2 separate regions of the Homo sapiens genome follow, and region 2 is linked to region 1. The links are contacts of gene promoters, found by promoter capture Hi-C in blood cells and fetal thymus (Javierre and others, 2016). All regions are on one chromosome and are shown on one strand. Each heading gives the region's core, a stretch centred on a gene start or on the middle of the fragment in contact. The rest is flanking DNA. Distances are from core to core; before and after follow the strand shown. Region 1 holds the start of TSPAN19 (tetraspanin 19). Region 2 has its middle 160 kb from the start of TMTC2.

Region 1 (4,663 bases), core at 1,187-3,686:
GTTGGATTAAGGATATTGGTATAAATGAATAAATCTATGAATAAACTCTGAAGCATATAAACATTGGTAAATATACACAAATAAAAGGATAATTTGTTTTATTTCCAAAAGTAACCATTTTGATATGTCAAAAGATTTCATATACATTTTTCTTCCCATGTAATTTAATCATGCTAAAATGTTCACAAGTAAAAACAAAAATCAGGATATAAATATATATAATGATAATCCCAATTTTACGAAGATGTATAGGTGACTATATATATTCAATATAATTTATATTTATATAAATTGTTTATAACAATGCTGCTAAAAATGAGAAGTACATAAAAACATCCTGAGAAAAGTAATATTTCTCCTGAAAAGCCTACTCCTGTTAAAAGGCTCAAAAGTGCAATACTCACTGTATCACTATCATCACTCTGGGTTTCTGATTTTGCATCACTCTCAATGTCTTCTTTTTCCAAGGAGGAAATGCTGAGTTTATCCAATTCAGCTTCTATTTCTGCTTTGAGCTTTGCATCATCATCGTCCATTATTCTTCATAATAAAGCACAGAACTGCTTTAAAAAATGAAGAGGCTAATATGTCACTAAAAATTATGTGTTCTCTAATTTGTCATACCAATCCAACATATTTATTTAAATATGTTTTAATTTAACAAACTTTTATCACACCTTATTATGGTTACACCAAACATTGTTTTATCTCTTCAATCATTCTTTTTAAACTTTGACTACAAAATGATCAACTGTAATTGTACGCTAATACTCTTATTGATTTATATGTTTATATAATTTTACTATATATAATAAAGATCAGAATTGTTTATAAAATTTTTGTTTCAGTTATTAATACATATAAATGTAGGTATGTATGCATGAGTTGCAATGTAATATGTGTTGTTGTTAATGTTCTGTTTTTTATTTTTCACTGTTGGTCTTAGTCCCAAAAAAGGTTTGAAAACGTACTAGTCAGCTATCATTTTATTTTTCATGACACTAGTTTAAACCTTTCTTTCTTTACTCAAGGGCCTGACCTTTCCACCTGTCTTCTTGTTCTTTTCTTCATTCCTTCTTTCCATCCTCTTTCCCTTTCGTTAATTCCTCCTTTCACTCTACTCAATCATCTCAAAATCAGTTCTACCCATAACTTCCACCCTCACTCACTCACTCAAAAATAAAAAATAAAATAAAAAAAGGAAAAGAAAGAAAAGAAAAGAAAAACAAAGTGAAATGGAACTCCAGACAGAACCAGGGCAAAATATTATCCTGCAATGGAACTCAAAGTGCATTTAAAAAGCTTTATTAGAAGGAAAGCTAGATTTTTTTTTTATGCCTACAAAGCAAAATGCACGGGTATACTAAACTTTATATAGAAAGAGAGGCAGGAGAGTATGGTGGAGGTAAGAGTCATTTCCTTTACATGACTTTCTCTGTTCATCTACTGGCTCATTAGATCACCCCTGTCCAATTACATATTTGAGCACTTACGCAAGTTTAAATTTTCTATTAGCAACTTTTTAAAAACAAAAGAGAAGTGCAATTAATTTTTATAATATATTTTATTTAACCCAATATATCCAAAATATTTCAACGTGTAATAACAAAATTAATTATTAATATCATTGCAAAGAGTTTATATTCTTTCTTTGGACAGTAATTCTTAGAAATCTGTTGTGTGTTTTACACCTGCAGCACATCTCAGTTAGGATTAGCTGCATTTCAAGTCCTCAGTAGCCACCTGCAGTTAGTGGTTACTGTATATGACGTGCAGTCATGGATGGGTCTCACTGTAAATGGGCTACATTAAAGTGCTCTAAGTTGATAACGAATCACTTGGAGTTCACTAAAGCTGTCAAAAGTAGAAAAGCTTAAGGAACTCCCCCTTCAACCCCTGTAAAGAAAGGGGAGAGAAATCTACTTTATAAGGTTCATATAAATTATATATTACCAAAAAAAAAAGAAAGAAAGAGAGACAGAAAAAGAAAGGGTGGAAAGGAGGGCGACAAGAAGGGAAGGAAGGAAGGAAAATAACGTCAATTGGTTTGTGGGGAGCGGTGAGTGAGTAACCATCGAATGATCCCTACATAGCCAAGACATCTCTTTAAGTTTTGAATGAGTTCTCGAAATCTCCAGGGTGGAAGGGAGCCTCGAGCTTCGCAGAGTCGCACAGCCATCCCCTGACCCGCGGTCTCTCCCTTTGCTGGAAGTCTGGCCAGGCAGAGAGAGTCCCGGCTCGGCCTGAGCTCCCACAGCTGTTCACCTCCCTCAACGGGAATCCCAGTCTTAAGACCCCGGCTCACCCCTCAGCAGCGAGATTCCTTGGCTTTGTTGTAAGACAGCGCCCATAGCCGCTACACAAAGCGTATCCATGGCAACAGCCAATCACAAGGAAGAGACACCGGTTTTTCCCTACAGGTGCTCTAGAAGGACAAACAATCTCGATTCTAAATTGAAACGAACGCAGCATTTCAGGGACTGGATGAGGAGCTTACGGTTTTTTACAGGTAGATTTTAATATTTAAGTAACTTTGGAAAATACTTAATAAAATGAAATTTTGTTATAATTACCCAAGTAGATGTAATCTCACTTTTAAATTTTTTAAATTGTTTCTGAGCTACATATATTTATATTTCCATCTGGTGATTTGCCCATGTATAAGGTGTTCATTCCACAAACCCTTAATCCTGAACAGTGATTTGTGGGACATAGAAGTATGGAAGAGAAGTCAATAAGTTGTTTGCCTTCCATGACAACAGTTTTTTAAAAAAGAAAAGAAAAGAAAAAGGAAAAAAGAAAAAAATCATCAATCAATGCCCATCAAAAACCTCTAACTGAAGGGATGTGGGTGAGAAATTTGAAAAATTATTTTCTGGAGTTATTTTACTGTAAAAATATTGTCACACAGTATTTCAATATAAAACCTTAATTTCTAAGTTTATGTCATGCTATTTAATTTTAACTTAATTTATTAAAGTTTTTTGTGGAGCAAATACATAGGGTACAAAATAATATTTTAATTAATAACATATTTTTTACTTTAATTTTCTTTTAAAGTTTGCAAATAAGGCATTAAATTCTAAAAGGAAGTAGCCATAATTGTAAAAGGTATCTGCTATAAAATAAGCTAAAAGCAAATATTTCACTGAGCCTCTGGAAAAAAAATAGACTACATTTCCTGGTAACAATAAACTTGAATTGCATCAACATAAGAACTAATAATATAAAGTGAGACGTTAATAGATTTCTCATATTAAAAGCACACATGTTAGTTTCCTTTTCAGGAAAGATGATTTTAAAAAATAAACTACACTTGGTTTCAGGTCTAATTAAATTCAGAGTATTTTCATTATCAAAGTCCATGCTCAAATGGAATTTGTTCTTTTTTTTAAGTTTGGTTTTATTGCTGATTTATAGACTATTGAAATTATCTATTTTTTATTGTTTTTTTAGAGACAGGGTCTCCCTCTGTTGCCCAGGCTGGAGTGCAGTGGTACAATTATTGCTCACTGTAGCCTCCAACTCTTGTACTCAAGTAATCCTCCCGCCTTGGCCTCCCAAAGCACTGGGATTATAGGTATGAGCTACTGTGTTCGAACCTCAAACTGTTCATTTAAAATAGACTTTCATATTGTGTTGAAGTTCACATAAGAATCTTAAGATTAGTTTTATTTTTGATTGTGAAACTATCCAGACTTCTAAAAATTATAAATCCTTTAATAATTTCAAAATTAATTTTGAATAACTAGTTTTCATAATCAAATAATTTTGGAAATAATGCCTTAGTTCCTTTCCTTCTCAAAGCTTACTTTGTCAAATATTGACAGCAAAAAAGAAAAACAGTGAAAGATTTTCTGAAGATAAATTAATTCATGGTGATAGATCTCCTATATTGTCATGCGATTTTTTACTTTGGAAGAAAGGACAACTTTATCAATTAGTCATAATTTCGCTAGAATATAACTAATCAAAAATAAAAGGCAGCAGTTATCTAATACATTTGTAGATTATAAGTAAATTTAACTTGACACTGTTGTTTATCAACCATGTAGTATTTAGCAGAAGTCCATTTTAATTGCATTATTCCTAGAAACGGTAACTTCAGATTGAGTATGTTGGTTTGCCTATGACTCTTTAACCTGAGTAGACTTTTGTTTCTTTTGAACATGTTAACTTCATTTCATTTAAATTTTAAAAACAATTTGTAGGTGTGGTTGATTTATAGCATATTGGCTTAACAATGCATATTTCCTTTAGAGAGTACATAATAAATATTTATTGAGAGAATGAAAGAATGAGAGATAACTGTTTGTTCTTTGTTATCTGACAAGACTAATATTCCTTTGAAAATGTGTTGTAGTGAAATCATTTTAGTTTAAGAGCATTTTTCAACAACTGCTTTATTCTTCATATGGCAGTGATATAATTTAAATATCCCATAATATCATTGTTGTGTTCAAAATAGTTGCAGAGCAGGTATTTCTTTGTTTCATTTTCTTGAGGCACCGTAATTATTGAGTAAAAGTAATTTACTATGTAGCTCATAGTACCACATATTGTATTCTTAGGCCTCTCATTCTCTTGTTCCACTTAAAGTGTGTCTCAAGCCTTCAGATTCTCTAACTCTCTTTGTGCTCCCTCCCAGCTGCTGTCATGACCA
Region 2 (4,706 bases), core at 1,626-4,125, 2.5 Mb after region 1:
ACCTCCTTTTTTAGATACCTGCTAGAGTAAAAGTTGCTCAACACCTGGGTCTATGGCAGAATCAAATTGCATCCGTACTTATAATTCTTTTCTGGTTATATTTGCACAATTAAATCTCAGCAGAGATTTTTTTTTTATTATACTTTAAGTTCTAGGGTACATGTGCACAACGTGCAGGTTTGTTACATATGTATACATGTGCCATGTTGGTGTGCTGCACCATTAACTCCTCATTTACATTAGGTATATCTCCTAATGCTATCCCTCCCCCCTCCCCCCACCCCATGACAGGCCCCAGTGTGTGACATGCCCCTTCCTGTGTCCAGGTGTTCTCATTGTTCAATTCCCACTTACAAGTGAGAACACGCGTGTTTGGTTTTCTGTCCTTGCGATAGTTTGCTGAGAATGATGGTTTCCAGCCTCATCCATGTCCCTATGAAGGACATGAACTCATCATTTTTTATGGCTGCATAGTATTCCATGGTGTATATGAGCCACGTTTTCTTAATCCAGTCTATCATTGTTGGACATTTGGGTTGGTTCCAAGTCTTTGCTATTGTGAATAGTGCCACAATAAACATACATATGCATGTGTCTTTATAACAGCATGTTTTATAATCCTTTTGGTATATACCCAGTAATGGGATGGCTGGGTCAAATGGTATTTCTAGTTCTAGATCCTTGAGGAATTGCCACACTGTCTTCCACAATGGTTGAACTAGTTTACAGTCCCACCAACAGTGTAAAAGTGTTCCTATTTCCCCACATCCTCTCCAGCACCTGTTGTTTCCTGACTTTTTAATGATCGCCATTCTAACTGGTGTGAGATGGTATCTCATTGTGGTTTTGATTTGCATTTCAACCTAACAATGACTTTCTTCACAGAATTGGAAAAAACCACTTTAAAGTTCATATGGAACAAAAAAAGAGCCTGCATTGCCAAGACAATCCTAAGCCAAAAGAACAAAGCTGGAGGCATCATGCTACCTGACTTCAAACTATACTACAAGGCTACAGTAACCAAAACAGCATGTTACTGGTACCAAAACAGAGATATAGACCAATGGAACAGAACAGAGCCCTCAGAAATAATACCACACATCTACAACCATCTGATCTTTGACAAACCTGACAAAAACAATAAATGGGGAAAGAATTCCCTATTTAATAAATGGTGCTGGGAAAATTGGCTAGCCATATGTAGAAAGCTGAAACTGGATCCCTTCCTTACACCTTATACAAAAATTAATTCAAGATGGATTAAAGACTTAAATGTTAGACCTAAAATGGAGATTTTTAGTCTCTTCCATTCCCAAATCTCCTCTACCTCTATCTTATTCTTAAATAAGTTAATTCCCAAAGCAAATGAATAACCATTCCTCAAGTAAGTGAAAAGAATACACAGTTTCCAAATGCCTTTTACCTGTATACTTTATGGGATGCTATTTTTTTCCCTCTTTACTCAAAAGAATAGCAATTCTTTACCATAGGTTAATACATAATCATTTGAAATCAGATTATATTCTTGATGGGCTGAAATGAAAGAAGTCAGTTTCCTGAATACAAATAAATGGTATTTGTCTCTTTGAATACTGTGATAGGAAGCTTTTTAATTATAGGCTTTTTATTGAAGTTTGGCTTCCTTATCAAATATTTTTTTTCTACCAATTTCATAAAGCAACATGCCCAGAGGACTGAATTTATTAATCTATATTTTGATGGGGAGCTATTTAGTTTTGTCCACTTACTTGTTTTAAAGATGGGAAAGTAGTAGCAAAATACACCCTGTGTCCTAAAACGATGATGAAATTCGGGGGCTACTCCAGGTAAGAAGTGAGAATAAAAGACTGGCGTGCTGAAACATAACATTTAGGCAATTTTATAATAGGGCAATGGATACTTCCAAGAAAAAACTTATAATTGCTCTTTTAAAGGTATAAATATGCTGGGCACGGTGGCTCATGCCTGTAATCCTAGCACTTTGGGATGCCAAGGGTGGCTGATCACTTGAGGTCAGGAGTTTGAGACCAGCCTGGCCAACATGGTGAAACCCGTTTCTACTAAAAATACAAAAATTAGCCAGGCTTGGTGGCACGTGCCTGCATTCCCAGCTACTCAGGAGGCTGAGGCAGGAGAATCACTGGAACACAGGAGGTGGAGGCTGCAGTGAGCTGAGATTGTGCCATTGCACTCCAGCCTGGGTGACAGATCGAGATTCTGTCTTAAAATAAAATAAAATAAAGATATAAATATGACTCATGAGTACATAAATAAAAATTTGGGAAGGAGGCAATAATGAAAAGTAGATATACCCATTCGGTGTTGAAAAGGACCTCTTGGGTTGAGTAGGTTTTGCCTTCAGACAATTGATATCTAAAGGACTAGAATTATTGAATGGTAAAGGATGTTTTTAAGGAAGACCTAAAAGAAGAAAAGGACAAAAAGAATATCTAGGCTAGGTCGAAGAAATCAGAGCCTTGAGAACAATTGAGAACTGGACCTTAAAGTGTCAGCCAGAAAGATGAGACAAGGAGAAAAGACTGCACCAGGGCCTGGCAGGGGGATAGTAGTAAAGATAGTCAGGTTTGTGGGTAACTTGAAGAGGCAGAGAAGATAAGTCAGGTAAGGATATGTGTGTGGCATTACCTGGGTAGGATGAGGCTTCTACAGAAACCCGAAAGCAGGCCACTAAGTCAATACTTGGACCTAGAACGGGAATTAGAAGTTGCACAGTCTATCCAAAGTCCCTTAATTTTATTTGCAGAGTAAAGGGGAACAGATAAATAAAATATGAAATAATTCAATAGTGTGTCAAAAGACATAGTATTAACCAGTTTTGTAGCTTTGAATAACTGTTTGGGTGTACTTTTCTTCCTTACAAAGTGAAAATAGAAATATAAAATTTTATAAAATGAAAAGTTTGCACAAACTGATTCCTTATGTTCAGCTCTCATCTTCTAAGAATCTGACACGCAAAATCCTAGTTGTATTTAATTTGCCCATGTTTCTGAATGGAAGAGGGGATGAATATCACTCTAGGGGGTGATAATTGGCAACGTCCAGAGACATTTTTGTTTGCCACAACTGGGGCAATGTTACTGGAATCTAGTGGGTACAAGTCAGGGTTGCTACTGAATATAAACAGGCAAGACTCCCACAACAGATAATTATCTAGCCCAAACATCAATAGTGCTGAGGTTGTGAAACTCTGCTACAGGTAAGAATTTCTTTACATCCAATTCGTGTTTACTGATCAGTTCTGCAGATCCTTTAGTAGAAAATATTGGGGAAAGCATTTCATTAGAGAGAATAGGCATAATTCAGAGACTTCTGAAGGAGTAAATCTTAACCTTGAAAATATCCAGTAATGAGGTAAGAGTGTTATGATCATGTTTATCATACAATAGCTATGGAAAAACTGTTGTCTCCTTACTTCTCTAATGAAGGCCTATTCAGCAATGGGAGTACATTCTGGAAGGCAGGAGAGATGGATTCCAGTGTGTTTGATTTTCTTCTGTCATTAGCCAGTTGTAATTGGGGTAGTAACTTAGTCACTGAGATTTGGTAGTTAGGAATACAGGAATCTACTTTTCCTTCTATCAAAGTTGCTGTGAAAATCAAGTGAAAGGACATCTGAAAGTGGTTTGAAAAGTTAAAAGTGCTATAAAGATATAAAAATTAATTCATGCTTATGTTTCACAATATTTACAACATTTTATCTAGCTTAACCTTGCTACGTATTAAAATGAACTCAACAAAGTTTGCATTCCAGTATGAGAAAGTATAGCATTATATTTTATGTAGAAAATGAAACCAAGTAAATTTCTGCTCACTAAGAGTTGAGAGTCTTGTTTGGTACATGTATCAGTTATCTATGACCACAATAAGCCTGCATAATAAACAATTGCAAAACCCTAAGTGTCATACAACATTAAGCATTTATTGTTCACATGTCTAGAATCAGCTGGGGTTTAGCCAGGCAGCTCCATCTTGGCTTAGATCACTCATCTATCTGGAGGATGGCTGGCTGTCAACTAACCGAGGATGCCTTGGCTGAGGCAACTGGCTTTGCTTTGTATGTCTTTCATCCTTCTGTGGACTAGACATAAGCATGTTCTTATGTTGAAAGTAGAGGGCAAGCTTCTGCTTACATCTTATCTGCTAATATTCCTTTGATCAAAGCAAGTCACCTGGCTGAGACCAGAGTAAAAGGCTGGGGGAACACTGCTATATGCATAGGGAGTGGACACTGAGTTACATGGCAAAGAATGTGGATATAAGGAATGATTAAGGTTTTGGCCACTGGTGCAATATACTTTAGGAAATAGTCACTAGATTATAAGGTGTCACACCCAGACCTGATGGAGGGGATAGGTATCACCCAGATTTTCTGGACTTTTAGTTGGATCAAGTTACTAAATATAACTCTGAGTTGACTTCTTTGTAGAGATAATACATGTGTAAGAAAAAGGATGTGCACAAATGTTCAGTTGTCAGAGGGAGGACAGTGGTAAAGAAAGCAACTGAGTATCAATATTTGTGCTTTCTTTTCTCTCTCAATCCATGCGGGGTCATCTAACTAGCTTTCTGCAATGGAATATAAGCAGAAGTAAGTGTGTTATTTCCAGTTTAAGAATTAGATGTTCATTCTCTTTTGTTTCTTTCCCTTTCTGCTGGGTGGAGGCAAAGTACTTCAATGGCCTAGG

The links. Contacts are between HindIII fragments. The CHiCAGO score rates a contact against its expected background, and 5 or more counts as called.
Region 2: a fragment that was not itself captured here is called in contact with the fragment with the promoter of TSPAN19 in region 1 in 1 of 17 cell types (total B cells); the score reaches 5.5 in total B cells.

The regions. Positions count from the first base shown.
Region 1 is chr12:85,034,050-85,038,712 of GRCh38, reverse strand. It overlaps TSPAN19 (tetraspanin 19), which reads left to right and starts at 2,436. Exons shown (of 9, transcript NM_001100917.2): 1 at 2,436-2,509. It overlaps LRRIQ1 (leucine rich repeats and IQ motif containing 1), which reads right to left and starts at 2,362. Exons shown (of 27, transcript NM_001079910.2): 1 at 2,306-2,362; 2 at 405-560. The coding sequence starts at 536. The HindIII fragment of the contact is 1,935 bases long and covers 1,875-3,809 here.
Region 2 is chr12:82,528,594-82,533,299 of GRCh38, reverse strand. No RefSeq gene overlaps it. Among named protein-coding and RNA genes, the nearest start is that of TMTC2, 160 kb to the left of the region's middle. RefSeq lists a silencer at 289-493. The HindIII fragment of the contact is 2,535 bases long and covers 1,608-4,142 here.